Linked DNA regions of Homo sapiens: all the other regions are linked to region 2. Evidence: promoter capture Hi-C in human tissues and cell types (Jung and others, 2019). All regions are on one chromosome and are shown on one strand. The core of a region is centred on a gene start or on the middle of the fragment in contact, and the rest is flanking DNA. Distances in the headings are between cores, read along the strand shown.

Region 1 (3,559 bases), core at 822-3,321, 2.0 Mb after region 2:
GAAGGGTAGGTTTCACATCCTAGGTGAATTATTCTCTTCCAATCTTGAATTAACAAGGATTGCTATGAATGTAAGAGGGAAAATCATTGAAATAAAAATACCTAATGCCACAATTGTTCCAAACTAAATGTAATCTACCACCCTGTTGAAAATTTAGAATTCCAGAGATTTTCTAACTGGATGCCATAAATACCTTCTCTCTTGGCTCAGAATTCCCTGGGAGTTCTGAAACTTAGCCCCACCCCATGAGGGTAGAGTTTATGTTATTCACACTTGTGTCTCCAGACCCAGACAAAATCTACTGAAAAGTAGGATCTCACTAAATTGTGTGATAGGTGAATTAATGAATGCTTATGTGAATGATGAAATGTTTACGCACAGCCCCCAAAGGTCAGCCTCAAAGGATGATATGGGTATCCTGCAGAGTGGCTCCTGAGGGCTCCAGGTACCAAAGCATGACTCTAAGGGCTCATCACACATTCTGGAAACTGTCAGCTTAGCAAGGCTGGCTAAGCAGAGTGACAGACAATCCCAGCTGGACCTTCCCTTCAAGTATTATGCAAGACAGGTTCATCCCCAGGGACAGGGGGTGATGTCTGGACTGGGTCAGGGAAGAGCCCCAGTCTCGACAAGGAGCGAAGCAAGGGCATAGAAGGTAGCAGCGCCTGGCATCTAGCACCCAGGTGGGGCCTGGGACAGGACTTCCAGCAGGAAGAAGGTAGGACACGCTGTCAGAACTAAGATCTAATATTCATTAACTCCTTATCACCCAAAATTGTATTCCCACCTCCAAAATGTTATTTTTAACTTTTGCTAAAAATAAACAAATATACAGATAAATAAATAAAAATAAACATTCAATTTGTTTTATGGCAGATATGCTAAGGAATGATGTGATAATAACAAAATATTGGAGACAACTTAAATATTCAAATACAGTGGTTGTTTTTTTAAAAATATGGGAAGCCATGCACTAATACTATACAACTATGTTAAATTATTTGTAAATATTCTTTTAACATGTGATTAAGTGAAAAAATAAGGTAATAAATACTAGTATTGTATTTTTTATAAAAAGAAAATTTTATTTATCTACAAAGAAAAGGGTTTGGAAAGTCACAAACCAAGATATTACCAATTTTTTTGTTAGGTAATTAGATTATACATTTTTCCTTTTTTTGCTTATTAAGAAATTTAAATTTTTCTTTAATGCAAAAAATATGTAAAAGAATTAACAGGCAGTAAATTTGTCCTTGATGCACTGCATTACAGAAAGAACTCTGAGTGGAATAAATATCACCTGTCTTTTGGACGTCCTAGGAGTTGAGTTGACACTGTGGTGGTTGCTTGTGTTAGGTGGAGTGAGCAATATCACAGAAACCTCCCACGTGGAGATTTCTATTGTATTTGAAAAGCTTAGAACACTGTTATGTGATGTATAAACTGTGGGTCAGAACAGTGATACAAAAATAATAAGAGTACTTTTGCTTCAAGAAATCCAACTTAATTTAAAGTGACTGGATTCCGATTTATAAGCCTGAGGTACATTAGAGTTTGAAAGTTTTTTGTTTCCTTTCAAATGTACATTAATATTTGGCTCAATGCTCATAGGGAAGCAATTCAGCACCAAAGGTGCAATTATTCTTCCAGAATGCTAAAATCAATTTAGCTGTTTGGCTTATAATAAATGCTGAGTTATATTCTCAGATGCCAAAATTCCTCCAATTATAGGTGTACATTACTGGGACTTCTGAAAAAAGAAATATGTAAGACCTCCCTTTTTAATTCGTGGAATTCAAGCCCTAAAGAAAAAGAACAAAATCCTCTTAAAAATAAGAAATTTCTACCCTCACCTATACATTTGTAAAACCAATTTGATCGCTGCTTGTATTTTTAGAGAGGATTTTGTTATTTTTCTCTAAGAGTATCCTTTTTTTCTCTGTTAAGTATTTTTAGACTCTGCTGAAAAGCAACTTTATATCTTCCATGTGACTTACTAGAAAGGTTCTCAAATCATAGCCTATAAATCATTAATGTCCCCTGATTTTCTATAACTATTTTCCAATTGAACTGAAAAAAATGACCAAAATAATCACATAAAGAAGTATTTTTTGTGTGTGAGATAAATCTGTTGTTCATTTTACACACACACACACAAACATTTTTAAAATGTAAAAACAGTATATGTAATCTCAAAGTTAGATATGAAAGGCATCAAAGTATGGTTGAAAGAATACAGACATTGAAATCATAGAAGATTGACTTTCTGTCATAGTTTGGACAATTACTGTATAAATGTAGGGCTAAATTACTTCATTTCTCTGTACCTCAGTTTCTCCTGTTTACTCCTATCTAGAGGCTTATAGTTAGGGGAAAAAAATCAGGTAAAGGTACAGTCATAATCACTAATGAATACTAAATATTTAATAAATGCTACTGGGGGCTTGTCTGTTCATTGTTTATTTGGGGTTTTTTTTGTTGTTTTTTGTTTTGTTTTGTTTTGTTTTGTTTGAGACAGCATCTCGCTCTATCACCCAGGCTAGAGTGCAATGGCACGATCTCGGCTCACTACAACCTCTGCCTCCCAGGTTCAAGTGATTCTCCTGCCTCAGCCTCCTGAGTAGCTGGGATTACAGGCACATGTCACCACACCTGGGTAATTTTTGTATTTTTGGTAGAGACGGGGTTTCATCACGTTGGCCAGGCCGGTCTCGAACTCCTGACCTTGAGATCCACCCACCTTGGCCTCCCAAAGTGCTGGGATTACTTCTTTATTGTTTATCTCTCTTGCTTTACTGTAAATTTCCTGAGGGCAGGACCGATGTCCTCTTTGAACCCCAACATTTTGACATAATTTCTAACTCCCAGTAGTTACTCGATAAACATTTGTTGAATGAATTGGTGAAGCATGTAGTATCCAGCAAAGATTGAGGGCTCCTAATCAGGATTATTTGTGACATTATTGTAATTGAATATGCTAAATCTTCCCATCCTGCCAGAGTTCCAAACCCTTTTAAAATTTATAATTAGGATATCACAAATATCTCTTCTCTAAATCTTTCATATTCGCTTCTCTAAAAGCTAGAGTGCAATTCTGTGTGCAGTGCTCTCCCTATGTTGGTTGCTACTTAATCTCCTAGGTTTTTCATGTTGTCCTTAACATTACACAGTTCTTCCTTATTGAGGCAGTTTAATTTCAATTTGCAGTTCCCCTCACTGCCTCCCCAACTTTTGAAAGACCACATTGTTGGTTTTAAAAGAAAGGTCACATTATTTTCTGGAAGTCAAGAATTTATCAGATTCTGCCATTTTATCAGAACAAAAGTTCTGTCATCTATCAAATGGATGAGTCTCCCAATGGTGGTCCAACCACCATGCCAGTGTTGCCATCTGTGTAAGGAAAGACTTTGGCTGACTCACCCCTATGAAATAACTTCTCTACTGTCTTGTTTATCGTCCCTCAGGCACTTTGCATTCTACTTTTCCCTTTAGGTTTGTGGGCATCCATTCACTGTGTGCCTCTTCTTATGCTTTGCTATTCTTACTCCTTTAGTGCCTT
Region 2 (3,365 bases), core at 647-3,146:
CACTGTGGGACTTAAAATAAAAAAGATTTCCACACCAAACATGATCCAAAACTCAATAGGTTACTGTTTTCAAGCTTTAAACATCACTTATTCTCCAGGTTTGCAGTAAAAAAACCTCTTGTCTTTGAGAATCTTATATTCTGAAATTTTATGATCACCTATGGACAACACTAGCTCTAACATGACAGTGGTTTAACAATATTACCTCCAAATGAAGGTAACTAAAGAGGAGACACACAAAACTGTGAACCAGGAAGGATTCGAAAGACACAGAGGGAAGGAAAACATGTATCAAAGACCTAGGGGAAGCAGTGGCCAAAGAATCAAGCAGTAAAAAAGCCTTCTTAATTCTCAATGTGACTAAGGAAACCAGACCTGTAAGGTAAGAAAGCAGGAAAGTGTAACAGCAGAAAAAGGACATTTAAAAAAAAATTTAGCATCTGGGCATAGAAAACACACGAGAAATTCGGGCAGCCACTCTTTTTTGACCTTTAACGTGTACCTGAACTGGTGGGTGCAGGAACTGGCGGGTGCCCATAATGGGGCACAACCCTGGCTGATGTCTGCACCAGTGATCTAGAGTTCTACCCATAAACTGTGAGGTTTCCAAATAGTTTGGGTGGTAACCATAAAAGCAAACACTTGTCTTTGCCAAGGTACTATTCTAAGCATTATACATCTCTTACTCATTTAATCCTTGCAACAATCTTGTGAGGTAAATCCAATTATTAGCTCCATTTTACAGATGGGGAAACTGAGAAGCAGCACAGGTTAAGTAACTTCCTCGAAGTCACAGAGCTAGTAACAGTGGAGCTGGTGTCCTAAGCTAGGCAGTCTGGCTGAGGAGTCCTCGCTTTCACCACTGTACTCATAACCAGCTCTTTTTCTGTCTGGATGCTTAGATCTTGGACTAAAAAAATCTGGTAACTTTTCAAAATTAGTTTCCTTGGGAATTGGGAAACCAAAGGAATAGTGGAGGGAGGGCAATTAATTTGAGTGTACAGGTCTGGAAGCATGCATACTCCATGTCCCCCTCCCTCAGGGCACAGTGAGGACCCAAACTTCGCAGACTGTTGGTAGGACTGGAATGTATTCAAAGTGCACGGAGCACGTAGTCGATGCGCAATAAATATGTATTTTCTTCTCTTGATAGAAGGTAAAACTAGGGCTAAGATCTTAATGACTTTTCAACTAGTGTTCCTTTCAATACACTACACTATATACTACGCATCTCTCCCAGATTGCAGTTTAAACACTGATGGGTGGTTGATCGTGCAAACAGAAAAATGCAGCCAAAAAAAATGCAAGTACCAAATCAAGTGGCTGTGTCCACAATCAGCTGGTGTCCAGAAAGACATGCAGAGAAAGTTCCACGACGTGAGATCTTCAAGGACAGCCCTAGTCCCCCTGACCCCGCCCCTCCTCGGCCCTAGAAATCACCGATTCCCCAGCCCGGTCTTGCGCAGTTTGCCCCTCCTTCGTTCTTCCCTATCCCTCTCAACATTAGCTAATGGCTGAGGTAAATGTGCCGGTCCCCACGGCACCGGCGCGGAGCGGAGGCTGCACACTTCCGCCCCTTCTCGCCGCTGGAGGCCGCGCTCTGCGGCAAGACTCGGCCGCCGCAGGCCCCGGGCAGCGTCCGCCGTTGCCCAAACCTGGAGGAAACTCAAGCCCCAGCCGCCATGGAGGTTGCGCGCAGTGCGCCCCGGAGCCCGCGCCACTCACCGGGGCGCTCTCGGGCAGGTTGTAGCGACACAGAGTGTGGTCCAGGTCGAATCCGACCACGTCGCAGGCGGCCAGGGAGAAGTGCTGAGCCATGGCTGCGCGGGGAGCACCAGGGAGCGCCTCGGCCGCGAAGGGTGCAAGGAGCTGGCTGGCGGGACGCTGCGGGACAGGACCGGGCCGGACGCGGCGGGGCGGGGCTGCGGCTGCCAGGGCACACGGCGCGGCAGCCTCTCCCGCCTCCCGCGCCCTCGAGCACCGCCCCTCGATACGCTTAGCCCCCGCCCCTCGCGCGGCGGGCGTCCTGCGCCGCCCGGAGTCAGGTAGTCAGCTCGCGTCCTCCTGGTACCCCAATGCCGGCGACTCCTGATCTGTTCCGCAAGCCTAGGAGCCCAGAAGGCAGTAGGGGTCCAGGAGCGGTGCCGCTGCTGCACAGCTGAGACCTGTAGGCACGTAGCCTTTCCCGAGGGCTACCACAAAATTAACCGGGACACTCCATCGCCTCAGGGCGCCTCGGAAACCAGGAGATCATGAGGTTAGACCTGACCTTTTACCCCTGTGTGAGGAATAGTAAGATCATAGAAAAAATTCATCCGCTAATATCCCTCTGACCCAGTTAGCCTACAATTTGGAAGGTCTTTTCACCCACGTGATCTTTGATAGTGGTTTAAACCAAAAACTTTATATTCCTTGGTTTCCTAAGTGGTTAAGTGGAAGACAGACCTTTCACTATTTCATACCCTGGAGTGCGTTAGAAAATAAATGTATCAGACATCGTGAAGAACCATTTTGCAAGATGATACTTGTTATGGAAACCAATATTGGTTATTACTTGATAATCCTATTTTGTTATTGTAATGAATTTTTTATGAAAGGGCATCAGAAACTTCATAGAAATATATAGAGCATACTACAAAAAACTTTTGCAAACCGGGTTTAAGGTTTATAGAGCACAAAATGTTTTGAGTGACATTTGCTTAATTCTCTCAAGAACTGTATAACTACTACCATTTTAGATGCAGAGAAAGTTAATCCATTACATACAATGTATGCCTTAGGGCATTTAATTCTCTTCCTGATTTCCGGATGTGAAGGACTAGCACTTTGAGATCTTTATTACATAGTACCTCATTTTAAAAAGAAAATACAAATCTATTATGTTTACACTGCTTCAGTTCTCAATTTAAAGGAACAATGTGTCTAATGGGACAAATCAATAGTCGTGACATAATGAAAATATAATTGATTGAGAACTGCATTTAACCCTTTCAAATACTAATCCTTCTGAGGCTAATAGACCAATCAGAGGATTAATTTAGTGCAATAGATAGTACAATTGAGTAGGAGGACACTTATACCTAGTAGACCCATTTGAATAAAATTGATAACTTGTTCCATTATAACACTTAAAAGCCCCAAACAAATCTCTCTGGAATAGGAAAAGTAAAGAATCTTCAAGAAGATTAAGCTGTTCACTGATGAGTCCAACAATCATGTTTTCAATGTCTGTGAACCAAAAGAGAAAAGGCTGGATTGTTGGAGAGGCTGGAAAAAGCTTGTTGGCCCTGGAGCATTGACCTTGGCATTCTCCTCTGCACCTTGCAATAGAATGCTACCAAAGTCAAACTTCCAGGTGCATGCCA
Region 3 (3,486 bases), core at 598-3,097, 1.4 Mb after region 2:
TAATGTGTACATATATGTGTACATATGTAATGTGTACATGTAATAGATATGTACATATGTAATGTGTACATATCTATTTTTGAAATCTAGTCTATTCTTGAACTACGCTTCATGTTTTTTTGTAGATTAATTTTTCTTTTACCTTTCAGAAAAAGTAGAGGCCATTAGCTAAGAATTCTTTCACTGATTTCCCCATTGCTAATATAATTATTTGTTACCCATATATTCACTCAAAAAAGTGTTTTTGAGGGGTGGTTACTATATACAGACACTGACTAGAGCATAATAATGACTGAGATAGACATGGACTTCGACCTCATGGAATTACCTATCAGTGAAAGAAAACAAATAACACAGAAGTAAACAAAAAATACATAATAATTATAGGTTGTGACAAACTCTATGAAGAATATAAACACGTAGTAGGGTAGATAGTGTCTGGGAGGTTAGAAGTGTGCTACTTGTGTGGTGAGGAAGGAATGTTCTGAGGTGATGACATTTGAACTTGGACTTAACTCTTCAGAAACAGCCACCCATAGGATGAGTCAGGAAAAGTGCACCCTAGCTGAAAGAAGAACAAATGAAAAAGCCCTGAGGTATGACAGAATTTGTTTTTTGTTGTTGTTGTTTGTTTGTTTGTTTTTTAGCTATATAAAGTAGGCAAGAGAACTATTTGGCTGATGGATTCTAAAAAAGAAAGATGGGCAGTGGGCCTAGGATCTGAAACAAGTTGGAAAAGGTGATCAGGCCTCAGCTCATGCAAGGCCTTGCAGATTATTGAGGGGAGTTGCTTTTAACTGTATGTCTAATAGAAGTCTCCAAAAAGTTTGAAGGTGGGAATAGGTGAGGAGGAATGCTGGCACCATTTGATTACCCTTTACTCTTGCAGTCATATGAAGAACAGACTGCACAGGAACAAGAATGGAAACAGGGGAATTCATTAGTGGGATGATCATTCCTCTTAGGCCCTTTGGGTCTTTTCTAATACTCCTTTTAAGTATAAATATCTTTTTAATCCATTTCAAAGAAAATGCTCTCTTTAGGTTAGGAAGTTGTCTACGGTCAACCTACCCATTAAGGAACTTTAGCAGAAGTACAGTAGATAGATAGTGATGGTTTGAGTTGGTTGTTGGTGGTAGAGAGAGTAAGGAATGATTACATTCAAAACGTATCTTGAAAGTTGCACTGAAGGATATATTGACGGATTGCATATACAAGGTAGAGGAAAGGCACAAATTGAGGATGACTTTTAGATTGTTGTCCTGAATTGATGGTGGTACCATTTACTAAGAACATCTAAAAAAAGAGAGAGAAAAGAAAGAGAGAAAGAAAGAAAAAAAATAGAGAAAGAGAGAGAGAGAGAAAGAGACAGAGAGAGAGAAAGAAAGAGAAGGAGATTTGGGTAGAAAAACAGAAGCCTAGCCAATTGACTTAGAAGTCAGAACAAAAGAGATATAAGAAAAATCAAAAGATAAAATTGCCCAAAATAGATATTCACCTCTTTTCTTCATCATTTGTTAGAAGAAGGACCCTTCTAACTTAACCTGAACAATTATTTCACTTGTTATCTGGGTCTTCTTTCTTTTCTTTTTCATTTGCTCACACTCTTAATTATCCCTGTTTCTATTTTATCTTCACCATCTTCTTACTTAATCTCTCTGAAAGTCAATAGATGTAAACAACTATTAACCATTAACAAAAATAGAAAACAGACCAAACAAGCGAACCCTTAACCCTCCAGGGACCCTACATTCTTTCTCACTACCATAATTCCCTGGAACTTTAGAGCCATGTTTCTGAAAAGGGTAGTCTATATTCAAGGTTACCATCTCCTCACCTCCCATTGCCACAAAATCACTGGCACTACGATTTTTACCCTCATCATTTTGATTAAAATCTCTCCCACAATTGCTTTCCTGTGCCAAACTGGTGGATATTTACCATTTTCATTCACTTGATTTTATTACTTTTATACCCTGTGCCTTTTAAAACCTGTCCTCATCATTTGTTTCTTCCTACTGTTATTCCTCCTACCTTTCTTTTGACTTCTATTTTCTCATCTCTTACACTTTTTCTATCCCTTATATAAGTTAATATTCCTCAAAAATCTATTATCAGCATAATGTTCTTCTCATTATAAAAAGTCTTCCCCCTGGGTCTTATACTTACCTCAAAGGAGTGACAACTATGTTCCCTCTCTTATGGTGATGTTTACATGGATGTATACACCAAACTAAAGCTTATCAAATTATAACTTTAAATATGAGAAATTTATTAGAAATAAGCTCTTTTAAAAAATACACTCCTTAATTTGAATGAATCTTACCAGAAAATCTATAAAAAGAGAAAACTTGGCTGGGCGCGGTGGCTCATGTCTGTAATCCCAGCACTTTGGGAGGCCGAGGCAGGCGGATCACCTAAGGTCGGGAGTTCGAGACCAGTCCAACCAACATGGAGAAACACCATCTCTACTAAAAATACAAAATTAGCCAGGTATGGTGGCACATGCTTCTAATCCCAGCTACTCGGGAGGCTGAGGCAGGAGAATCACTTGAACCCAGGAGGCAAAGATTGCGGTGAGCCGAGATCGTGCTATTGCACTCCAGCCTGGGCAACAAGAACCAAACTCCCTCTCAAAAAAAAAAAAAAAAAAGAAAGAAAACTTGTTCCCATGACACTCTAGTTATGGTGGACTCTTGCTACTTTCTTTTCTCCTGTGAGACACACTAACCATGATGAGTTAAATCATCTATCACCAGGTATTTATTGCCCAGATGTGCACAATTTGTTCCTAGAGACAAAATTCAATAAAAGTAACTTCAATAACTTTTCAGGTATGAATCTAGTTATGACTTTTCAGATATAAGCCTGGTATGAATCTGCTTTAGTGTTTTTCGTTTGTTTATATCTGGTGAATGCATCAGGCATAGGCTTCACGTTTTGTCTGATCACTTTTTCCCAGCTTATGTGAGAAGAACAAAGACGGAATTAGCTCTGTGTCTATTTTCTTTCTGGCATTCCAAAGTTACCACAACTTATTTCAGAGTGCTGTAGTATGCTAGGGAGTGCCTTCATTAAGTAGTGACATCATTCCTACAGCAGCAATTTCCTGTCTTTGGAGAACGTCTAAGGTCTCCCACAAGAAGGACCCAGTTTCTCCCTCTTAGGATGGATTTCTAAAACTCCAAATCTCTAAAGTTCATCATTACTGCAGTAGGGAGTCCAGAGATAGCCCCAGACATTAGCTTTGCCTAACATTTTGGAATAAAACAGCCTGTTTGCTGCCCCTAGAGGTTCTGCTCCTCCTGTTAAATAGTGTATTTGTATTCTGAGAGTACAACCTATGGGACAGAGCAAATGCATCTTTTTTGCTTTACTCTGATCTAAAATAAAACTTGGAATACAGACTCCTACAGTAGCCATTCTGAAATACTTTGCAACATCCAGCATAGCACTAGTCAGGGCTAAAGGAAAGGAGATGGTATT

Evidence for each region. The method cuts DNA at HindIII sites, captures the fragments that hold promoters and counts their contacts. A contact is called where the count stands out against the background at its distance.
Region 1: a fragment that was not itself captured here is called in contact with the fragment with the promoter of NT5DC1 in region 2 in 1 of the 25 tissues and cell types used here (dorsolateral prefrontal cortex).
Region 3: a contact is called between a fragment that was not itself captured here and the fragment with the promoter of NT5DC1 in region 2, in 1 of the 25 tissues and cell types used here (dorsolateral prefrontal cortex).

Annotation. Positions count from the first base shown.
Region 1 is chr6:114,119,097-114,122,655 of GRCh38, reverse strand. The region is part of intron 3 of HS3ST5 (heparan sulfate-glucosamine 3-sulfotransferase 5); the gene reads left to right. The region is part of intron 6 of HDAC2-AS2 (HDAC2 and HS3ST5 antisense RNA 2); the gene reads right to left. Among named protein-coding and RNA genes, the nearest start is that of HDAC2, 150 kb to the right of the region's middle. The HindIII fragment of the contact is 4,983 bases long and covers 1-3,559 here.
Region 2 is chr6:116,099,384-116,102,748 of GRCh38, reverse strand. NT5DC1 (5'-nucleotidase domain containing 1) reads right to left here and starts at 1,896. Exons shown (of 12, transcript NM_152729.3): 1 at 1,726-1,896. The coding sequence starts at 1,818. It also overlaps a transcript of FRK not described here. RefSeq lists enhancers at 1,193-1,713, 1,714-2,236 and a silencer at 1,821-2,080. The HindIII fragment of the contact is 5,791 bases long and covers 1-3,365 here.
Region 3 is chr6:114,735,123-114,738,608 of GRCh38, reverse strand. No RefSeq gene overlaps it. Among named protein-coding and RNA genes, the nearest start is that of LNCPOIR, 190 kb to the right of the region's middle. The HindIII fragment of the contact is 3,469 bases long and covers 113-3,486 here.